Regions from separate parts of the Homo sapiens genome. Here all the other regions are linked to region 2. Evidence: promoter capture Hi-C in 16 types of primary human blood cells and fetal thymus (Javierre and others, 2016). All regions are on one chromosome and are shown on one strand. Each heading gives the region's core, a stretch centred on a gene start or on the middle of the fragment in contact. The rest is flanking DNA. Distances are from core to core; before and after follow the strand shown.

The links. The method cuts DNA at HindIII sites, captures the fragments that hold promoters and counts their contacts. A CHiCAGO score of 5 or more calls a contact.
Region 1: a fragment that was not itself captured here is called in contact with the fragment with the promoter of WWTR1 in region 2 in 1 of 17 cell types (endothelial precursors); the score reaches 5.7 in endothelial precursors.
Region 3: a contact is called between a fragment that was not itself captured here and the fragment with the promoter of WWTR1 in region 2, in 1 of 17 cell types (endothelial precursors). The highest score is 7.2, in endothelial precursors.

Annotation. Positions count from the first base shown.
Region 1 is chr3:149,588,550-149,592,049 of GRCh38, forward strand. The region is part of intron 2 of WWTR1 (WW domain containing transcription regulator 1); the gene reads right to left. Among named protein-coding and RNA genes, the nearest start is that of WWTR1-IT1, 62 kb to the right of the region's middle. The HindIII fragment of the contact is 4,706 bases long and covers 1-3,500 here.
Region 2 is chr3:149,655,911-149,659,335 of GRCh38, forward strand. WWTR1 (WW domain containing transcription regulator 1) reads right to left here and starts at 2,115. Exons shown (of 7, transcript NM_015472.6): 1 at 1,855-2,115; 2 at 966-1,399. The coding sequence starts at 1,396. WWTR1-AS1 (WWTR1 antisense RNA 1) reads left to right here and starts at 2,300. Exons shown (of 3, transcript NR_040250.1): 1 at 2,300-2,798. RefSeq lists enhancers at 1,942-2,521, 2,129-2,198, 2,759-2,968 and a silencer at 2,429-2,588. The HindIII fragment of the contact is 3,935 bases long and covers 560-3,425 here.
Region 3 is chr3:149,736,572-149,740,079 of GRCh38, forward strand. It overlaps COMMD2 (COMM domain containing 2), which reads right to left. Exons shown (of 5, transcript NM_016094.4): 5 at 1,901-3,508. Among named protein-coding and RNA genes, the nearest start is that of COMMD2, 14 kb to the right of the region's middle. The HindIII fragment of the contact is 1,295 bases long and covers 1,059-2,353 here.

The DNA.
Region 1 (3,500 bases), core at 561-3,060, 68 kb before region 2:
TAAATTACATGGATCTGTATTTGCTAAAATATATTGTGGGAGTGAACATAATCCCGTTTTGGTAAATAGAACACATATGAACAAGGGGGAAGTAGGCTTTATTCATATCTTTACATTTCTTTGTTCTTTTTGTACAATAAGCATTATTTTTCTAATCAGAAAAAAAATGAGAAAGCTATCCTCCCCCCAAAATGAACCCATTTCCTGCTTAAAAAATGATGCTGCATTCCACATTTGAACCTATACCTGCTCATTACAGCCTCTGAAAATAATTCCACAGCTATAGTGCAGGACTGAAAATCTTGTCTCTGCCTTAACTGTGAGTTGGAAAAGGCGCCACCATAATACTCCCATGAGTGCTTAGCCTAAAGGTGCTCTGAACTAGAGAGAGGCACAAAAGGGGGAAAAATGCAATAGAAGGAAGGGATAAAGAGGATCAAGGGAAGTTCTATAATTAAGCAATATTTTACGGCTGCCTCTGGCAGCTGTTTGAGTGAGCGGGAGAATCTAAACGAGGTGTCAACAGACACAGGAGCTGCCCTCTCCTTGGGCAGATCCAGCAGGGCCTAGCATGTCCTGTACTTCACAGGACAATCTGGGGCATCTTATATCCAGCACCTGTCAGCCTGGGAGACTCCCAGCTGCAATACTGTTATTGCTGTCATCTGCCTAATCCAGAAGGGAGCGGCATTTATTGTATCTAGAAAGAAAGATTAGGCTAAAATATATTTGACTGTTCTTATGAAAGAGAATGCATGCCTCACGTAACTGTGTTTGTTTTCTTCTTGTCCCTCCTGACTTTTTCTGTTTTTATCAAAGGAAGAAACCTACTCTTGCAGCTGTATTTTTCATTTTTAACCCCCACGTTAATCATATATTCACAACAAATAATGGTTTAAATTTAGTCTGACGACCAGCCACAAGGCTCCTTCTCATCCCACTATGAGGCACATCCTGCCTTCAGACTCTTTACGCAATCCTCATTGACTTGGAGAGGAACCCCGTGCAATGAGTTAAACAGGATATAGACCATCATAATTACCAGAGGAAATGGTATTTTCTTTACAGGATACATTTAGATTTTTCCTTTCCATGAGTTTTTTTTTTTTTTAATGGTGTTAAAATGAAAGGAGACTTTAAAGCAGCTTTCAACTTCTCAGTAGCCCCAACTATGGACTAAATGCAGAAGGCCTTACACACAGCAGACATTAAAAAACTACTCATAGAATAAGTGACTGAATTAAAGGAATGAATGAATGAATGAATGAACATATTTAATGGGTTTACTTCGACAAATCATTTTGCTTCTAGGTATCAAATATAACAGTTGAATCTTATTCACATCATATATGTTTTTATCTGTAAGTACTCATAAAACTAATCTAGGAAGATTTGTTCCTTACTTGCCCCAGAAAGGAACAAATTCTAGAGAATGCTGTCACATTCTATTAAACAAATTAAGTCATTCTCAATTCATTCCTGTTGATTCTGCAAACTGCTCGGCTGAGCCTCTACCAGGTACTATACACCATGGGTCCTGAAAGTCCACCATATCTAGCATACAATAGACACTAAATAATAAATGTATGTTGAATGAATTGCTACTTATATTCCTAATAATGACAATCATGGTAATAATGATAGTTACAATAATAATTATTCATATTAATTATTAGTCATAATATTCACAATAACCATGCTGTTAATGTCTGATAATAATAGTTGACATTTATATACCATTTTATGGCTTCAAAAATGATCTTAACTTGATCATTACATAACAGGCTTACTAATCTCTGTTTTTAAGAAATAAAAATGGGCCGGGTGCGGTGGCTTACACCTGTAATCCCAGCACTTTGGGAGGCCGAGGCAGGCGGGTCACCTGAGGTCAGGAGTTTCAGACAAGCCTGGCCAACGTGGTGAAACCCCATCTCTACTAAAAATACAAAAATTCACCAGGCATGGTGGCGGGTGTAATCCCAGCTACTCGAGAGGCTGAGGCAGGAGAATCGCTTGAACCCGGGAGGTGGAGGTTGCAGCGAGCCGAGATCATGCCATTGCACTCCAGCCTGGGTGACAAGAGGGAGACTCCGTCTCAAAAAAAAGATACAGAAACAGAGTTGGGTGAAGTAAACCTACTTAATAAGTTCTTAGTTTCCATGTGGCAGAGCAGAGTCAAATCTTGTTCTCATAATAAGGTCTAGGGCTTTTTCCATGATACAATACTGCCTTGTGAACCCAAAGAGGCTGACGTGCATAACTTGGGCCATTAGGAAGGAAGGAAAAGGGGAGGTGGACCGTCAGCACTGCTGATAGCCTGACTTTGTCCTGGAACAATATCTCCTGCAGGCTTGGTCCTCCTCTTGCTTCAATAACACACCACCATCCCTCCTTGTCCCTCCTGAAACCCTTGAGTCACACAGTATGTCAACTTGCCTGCAAAACTTAGCTTTTTTTTTTTTTTTAACACCCTGGTTTTAATTAGGCATATCCTGTCAAGAAAAGGGACTCTTGTGACAATAAAACAAATTAGGTCCATGTGATCCTGTAGTTGTTAGGGAGAAAGGAAAGAAAGAAATACAAATACTACTTAAAAAAACATAAATACAAAGCGGAACGCCAACTCTCCACTATGACCTAAAAGGAAGAGGTAAAAGGACTCTGAAGATAGATTTGGAGATGCAAGGCAACAGCTGAATATGCCATGAGCAATGCTGGAACCCTAAGCCAGAGCTGGGGATGTGATTCTTAAGGCCCTGCCACTTGGAAAGCCAAAACCTGTTCCTTCAGAAGCCAGTCTCTGATAGTAACTTTAGCCTAACTTGCCTTCCATTTTTATTAATGCTTTTAATATCATATTGCCTTTAGTTTTTATTAATGTTTTCATTATTTTAATAACTAGGGAAAATATTCAAATAGGGCTGTTGTATAAAATGTGTTCAGTCTATAATAAGCTATGTAACCAGCCTTTATAATTGACTATATAACTGTAATTACTTAACTAAAATTCAAGATGTACATTCACTTTTCCTAAATTTTCTCTAAACAAAAAAAAGTAGTAGAGATAAATTCCAATTTTTCTAAGAAATTACCTTTTCATGATAATATCTTATGTTTTAAAACATTTACACAAAAAACATTTTTGCAATGTATTCTGAAATTAAAAATAGTTATATTAGAAGAAACATTTCATTCTGGGTTAGGAATTGTAGTCATTTTAAATGACTTGAGAAAAAAGTTCATGTTTAAATACTCAGACCCGTAATAAATATATTAATACAAAAGTGCGGGAAAATGTACAAATGTTATCATATGTTGCCAAATGTGAGAAACATTGCGGGAGGGGGTAGGAGAAAGAATTAGTGAATACAAAGTCATTGTGAATTCAGCAAAGGGAGAGACACTTCTGATTCTGCCAACTGCATCTGGTATTTCCACCTAAAATCTACTTCTCCGGTAACAAATGCTTTCAGGTTCAACCAGACTGTGAGGAGACACAG
Region 2 (3,425 bases), core at 865-3,364:
TCAAGTTCTTAGGAGAGGAGTTTCCCTCACTGGCAGTGCAGGCAATCCTGAAACAAGTGGTTAGGCTGGCACAACCTCCATCTTTGATAGCCTGACCCTATGACCTCAATGGAACATTTCAAGTTCCAGCCTGGTTTCTCCTGAGGAATGTAGTTATCTTAGGGTACCACAATTGAAACAACCTCCTCTAGTGTTTGAGAATATATTTTCCTGTGGGGTGTAATTTGAAAATTTCAACTAATGTAAAATTCATGACATCAAAAAGCTGGAACAATGTGAAAGGAAGAAGAGTGACAAAGCAGGCTTGTGATTTGATGGTATTTTAGGTTAACAAGTTTAATGTAATAAAACTCCTAACAATTTCCACACGATTGATTTGTCCAGCCCACAACTACTCCACCACACAGTTGCTAATAACATCACTGTGCTGTGTGGTCATTATGTCACCCAGCTGGGAGCACTATGGCCTACCAACCACTGTTCACTTTTCCAGCTTGCTTTTCCCAAGAAGATAGAAACTGCAGACCACCTACTTCACCAAAAGTCCCTCTGTTCCCCAAGCTTCACAGCTTTTCTCTGATTTATCTCGGTGTCACATCCCAAAGGGCCTGGCTCTGGACTATCTGACTTAGAGTGGCCAAGGAAGGGACTAAGGGTCTGTGCCCAAGAGTTGGCTTCAGTCCTGCAGATTCAAGGCAAAGTCACCTGTGTGTTTTATGGTGGATGAACTTCACCACTGCTTCTGATCCCTGCTTCTGATCCCTTACAATTCCAACACTCAGAGACTCACTCCCTGCTTCCAGCTCTCCATATCTGTGAAATAACCGTGGAAGGACACGCACCATCTCTCTCTTTCTCTCTCTCTCTCTCTCTCTCTCTCTCACACACACACACACACACACACGAACACACGCGCGCGTTGGGCACTGTGACTTGGTGCCTTCTTCGGCTCCAGGCTGACTTACTTGAGGAAGTACCTCTGGCCAGTGGCCGTGAAGGTCATCTCCCAGCCCGGGGGCAGTGGCAGCTCGTCGGTCACGTCGTAGGACTGCTGGCGGAGGTGCGCGTGCTGCTGCGCGGGGCTACCCGCAGCACCCGCGCCGGTGCCCAGCTGCAGGGACGCGGGCGACGAGTGCGAGCGGACATGCTGGGCACCCCCAGCCAGTCGAGGCCCCGGGTGGCCGCCCGACGAGTCGGTGCTGGACTGGCGCGAGTGCGAGCCCGAATCAGGCTCCTTAAAGAAAGACTCCGGCAGGATCTTCTTCCGCCACGAGCTAGGCTTCGGATTCATGACAGAGTTGAAGAGGGCTTCGAGGTCTGTGTCTAGGTCCTGCGTGACGTGGATCACTTGCTGCCCAGGCGGCGGGAGCGGAGGGGGCGCCGAGGCCGGATTCATCTTCTGCAAAAAGAAGGTCAGATCAGCCTTTTATTTAAAGTCGGAGGAAGTGGGTAAGAGGGTTACAGGGTGAGAGGGCGAGATGGTGGGAGAAAGAATAGAGGGAAAAGGAAACGAGGAGACAGATAATTGCCCGCCTGGAGATCCCAGACACTCAGCGGTAAGACCAGCAGGATGGGGGAGGGGTCCCTCCTGGCCTCGAGAATTATGCAACTTTCTTGAAGCAAAGAAGTTGCCTGGAGGAGGAGAAGATAGGGCGAGGGGTGGAGGGAATAACTGCACTCGGGGCTTGCTGAACCGCAGGATGGCAAAGGAAAGGTCGCACGATTCCAGGACAGGCAGCCCCCCGAAAGAAGTTCAGCCCGAGCCAACTCCACCACGTCTCGACTCCGGAAGCCCGAGGAGCCTGGAGCCCTGGAGTGGTGCCGGATGAGCGCGCGAGCTCCAGCGGGCACTACCTGGGCGGGCAGCGAAGCTGAGCCTGAGCGCGCGGCGGCCGCCGTCCCGCCCGAACTTGCCGTCGGGCCTGGGTCGCTCGGGTGAGTCCCGAGATTGCGGAGCTGGAGCCGAGGCTTGGCTGACAAATCCCGACCCGACTCTGTGCCTGGCAGTCTAAGGGCTTCGGCTCTCACATCCCCCGAGCTGGCCTAAGGCGCTAGTGCTGGGCGAAAAGGAGGCGCAGGAGAAGCAGACAGCGCGGCCGCAGCAGCTCCCGGACTGTCCCATAAACAAAGTTTGGAGCAAACTCCCACCCCCAGGAAAGAGGCGGGCCCGAAAGTTGAGCTGTTGAATTATGTATGACCTCCTAGTCCCTAGCCGGCCAGCCCCCGCTCGCCCCTCCTCTTCCTCCTCCTCCTCCTCCCACCTCGGCTCCAGAAAACCCTGGGCGTGATGGGTACTTTACTGGGTAAGAGGAGACGGGTGCCCCCCACCCACTCCTCCCGGCCGCGCGGACCTCTCCCGCTCAGACCTGCATCTGCATTCCTTTGAGTTTACCACGGACTTGGGGCGGGATCAAAGGGAAAGTGGCCTGAGCCTGTTTCATCAAGGGGTTGTGGACCGAAACCAAGGCCGGGGGTGGCGGAGGGCACGCGGATGAGGGGCTCAGGCCTAGGAAGGGCCGGTCCTGGACACCGCGCCCTCCCCTGCAGCCAGGCGCCGAGGCCTGCAGCACCCGGAGCGCCGCACTGACCCGCGATTCTGCCCGAAGGCCGGCCCGGGTGCGCCCCGGCGCGGGGAGACACCAACAAGGCCAGCTTTTCCACGAGAGGCTGCTTAGCTCTTGTGACCATATTTGGTCTGGCGAGGAGGCATCTTGGCTGCCTGGCTCTCAATTGTCTGCTAGAGCACAGACGGTGCCCAGAAAGTGCCTCTGTCACTGGAGATGCGGCTTCGCCAACGGGTGGGTTGTAAACAAACAACTTTCAAACCATTCATCAATCCTTAATTTCCTCTACGGGGGTGACTCAGGCCACTAGAGATTGAGAAGAAAAAGCTGGGTGTTGGAAGAGAAGAGCAATTGCACCCCCCTCCCCCGCAACATCCGTGAGGGTTGTGGGAGGATTGGAATGTCCCTGCCGCCCTCCGGGGAGCCTGGAGCCGGGATGGAACCCGAGCAGGTGGCTGGAAGTAGAGAGGGTGCGCCAGTGACCCGAAAAAAGCCACCCACCTTCCCACCAACTAGATCTGGGCGAGGGATGGAGACCCCCTGCCTCTAGCTAAGGGAAGAAGGTCAAGTCTGGCGAAACAGCTGCGGGAAGTAGGAGGAGGCCTTGCCCTTCAGAGCAGCTCAATTTCTTTTCTCTCTGGTTGCCTCTCCACTGAGGGGAAAGGGTGGGGGGAGATGGCGAGGTAAGCCAAATTCCAGGAAGCCCCTACTCCACCCCATTTGATTCAAATAGGAGTTTATTAAGTAAATCAAACGAGACAATGTAAAGCACTTCGCACAGCACCGGGCTGGTTACGTAAGTGTTTGTTAAATAAAAGAGAACTGTATGTTCTTCAAGTTCACGTATTGTGCCTTAATTTT
Region 3 (3,508 bases), core at 456-2,955, 80 kb after region 2:
CAGCTGTAGCCATTGAATCATGTTAGATTTCTGCCTTCCAGAAGAAGGCAGAGTTTCAAGGAAAAGCAATTCTAGTAGACACCAGACCAGAGGAACTTCCCTTCTTCAGAATAACTCCCTCAGGAGATTCCTTTCTGCAGCCTAATGAGCTTATGGATTAAACTATTTTAGAGGATGGAACAGCCTAAGAGCATTCTAAATTCTGAGACTAGAACTTTATCCTTTGTTCAACACACAATATGGGTCACTCTAAGTACCTACTATTAACAAAACTGAATCTGTACCATGTAAAAAAGCCAGAAAAGATTTCAAAATGTGCTTTGTTATCAATATAATGCCATGCATAAGTGGGTAGTTTATAGCTTAGTGTAACAGAGCAGAGTAAAAAAAATTTTAAAAGTTAAAAGGCCTCATATGGTTGGTGAGATAAGGCACAAATCTTTTTTGTGTTATTTCCCTTTTTGGCTGCTGGGCAGACTCTTCTGCAACAGAGGATATGATAACTGCAAGAGAAGAAAATGAAAAGTGTAGTCTTTGCAACTAAAAAATGTCAACTTAGGCTCAAGCACAATAAAAAAACACAGTCTCTCACTCTGGTGGTCATATAATTGGTAATATTTCTAATGATAACAAACATAATTTACATTATAATTATAAAAAGTTCATCTTATTCAAAAGTTGCTTGGGTTTAGAATGGCAACAACTCAAGTAAAAGCCCAGTTTTAGAGCACATTAACATAGATATTTGTATTATTGATACTGCCTTTTAACCCACTAAGGATATGAAATTACTTTTTCTATATTCGCCCATTATGGTATGTCAAAACTTTTGGACTCATGGCTGTTGTGCATACTTAAGTTATAGATGGAGTTCCTGGGTAGAGAGGAGCTGTAAAAATCTAGAACAAAGAGCCATTACTACTCTGTGATCAAATCATTAAATACACATTTTAGTGCCATATAGTATTTTTTCTCATCTTTATATAATTTTTTGAAAGCTGAAAAATAATGGGCTTATTCTGCTTTTATAATTCAAACATTACTTTCAAAATGTATAAAGCTTACTGAACTAACCACGTTAATGGTGGAGTTAGGTTCATTTGTTCTAAGAAAAGTATTTGAGTTTGAATATAACAGTCATGATGGTTTTAAAAGTGAACATATTTAAGTTAGAGGCAATGTAGTATCATAACATTTCCACCAAAATATTTTCTACTGTTGGTGGAAGAAAGATGTGAGAGTAATCTATGATTATGGAAACTCTGGAAAAGAAGATACTTAATCAAATTCATATAAGTACAGAGAAGACTGAGTAAGTTATAGCAGGAGGACTTTAATATAGCAGCTGACAGAACTTCCTGATCATAAGGGATGTGAAAAACTTCAAAGAAATACTGTTTCCATTTGAGATGAAAAACAACACAAACAATTCTCCATTTAGAAGTAATATTACCTAGAAAAGGAGAAACGGCTTAATGTCTTAAGATTCCCATGTTTTTTTCACTAACATGGAGAAAAAAATGACAGAAAAAGGAAACTCTAGAGCGCTCTATATATAAAACCCTCAGCCTGTTTACCTGAGTCCTTTGGGGACTGAGTAGTTTTGAACAGCTGAGTTTTCTGGTAAACTATGTGTTTATCATTCTAAGAATTAAGTTTGGATAAAAATATCTACTAAAAATATATTTAAATTCCCTGATCTTTTTTCTTTCCTTTAATATTTTTTCCTAAATGTTATGAAAGTTATTCAAACTTACTATAGAAATTAAAAAAGAAAAGAAACAGCCATAATTCCGCCACCCAGAAACAACCAGTTGGCATTTTTTTCCCAGTTTCTTTAACAGAGTATACAGGACATAATTCAAGGCTGTAAAATAATGAGATCCTCAGTCTACAAAACTATTTCAATAATGGTAAACATTTATTGAGTTCTTTGTAAAGCCTGGTACTATGTTAAACATTCTATATACATGGTCTCATATAGTCCTTACGAGTCAATGTGGTAGGTAATCCTATATTCCTATTTTAGAGATGAACAAAAAAAAAGGCTTTGAGAATTTATCAAGGACCCATAATAATCCACAGAACCTAAATTCAAATCCTTTTGTCCAACTCCGAAGACTTATCTCTTAACCACTTCATAAGATTAAAACGCTGAAGGGGCACATACTGTTATGAATTTTAATGGCTCCTACACATGCATCCTTTATATATACCCTTCATGATTTTTCAAACCATGTCAGATTCTCATTTTTCAATTCTCAAGATACAGCATCTTCTTATAGCATCTTCACCACCTTTCCCGTTTACTGTCTTAAATGTGCCCAATCTCGGAAATATCAATAACAAAACAAGCTTGTTGACATTTTGTGAAACATTTAAGGAGACTTCCAAGGAATGTAACATATGTAGACTTTGTGACACATATATTGGCATGTGGTCACAGCTCTGTTCTGAGATGAGATGTTACTATTTTGGCTTTGAGACATGAAGGATATGACATTTAAGTCTAAACATGCACCAGCCAATCGTGAAAAGTCAGCATACTCATAATCCAAAAAGCTTCAATAGAAATTTAGATAGTTATAGAAGGTGCATTACTCAGAGTCAAGAAACCTGGGTCATACTGGAGAGAACAGTGACTACCTCTAAAGAAAATTATGTTCATATACAAGCTACAACAAATATCAAATGTTATATAAAACAAACAATGCAGGGGAATCCACAAGGATGTGGAATGTTTGAGCAAAAAAAAGGAAGAGGCTTATTCAATGGCTTGTACTAAAAGATAAGCCCCAGATTCTAAAAGAAGGTAGGCAAACTGCTCCCAACTCACCCTGGTCTCAAAAGGTGAAGAAGGTAGAACATCACAGAAGGAATAATGGAGTACAGTGAAAGGAGGCCAAGGCAGGTTGATAAAAATTAAAAAAGGATTAGCACATGCTTTCTTGTTTTAATTGGGGTAAGAACAGTGGACAAAGAGTTGGAGATAGGTTGTTCTGAGGAGACAAAGGGCTATTGTTTCATCTTGGCTGGGATCAGCCATGTTTACCTTCCATCGAAGGTGGACAAATAAAAACCCTTACAGAGGTATTTTTTATCATATGTTTTGCAGGCATGTTGCTTTTAAACCCAATGACATATGCTACTATTTCACGTAATAAAGTTTCTTTTTGTTTGTGAGGTTGTATATGAGAGCTTCATTAATCAAGTTGCCACTATAATTAAAAATTATTTCTGATTATAGTTTGCTGACATCTAATAATATAGTTGTTTCACAACGGCAGAATATATACCTACAGGAAAAGGGTGGCCCAGATGCCTGCAGGGACCAATGGGTAACCATCTCAAGTATGTTTTTCTTCCACTAGCCTATTCCCTGCTAGGCTCTCTCTTCTCTAAAGAGATTGCAACATGGTATCACTCTGATATGAAAATCCCTAATTCTTACGAAGCAAAGTATTGACAAAGTCTAGAGCGCAGTTTAGAGTTTGATTGCTTCTACAGC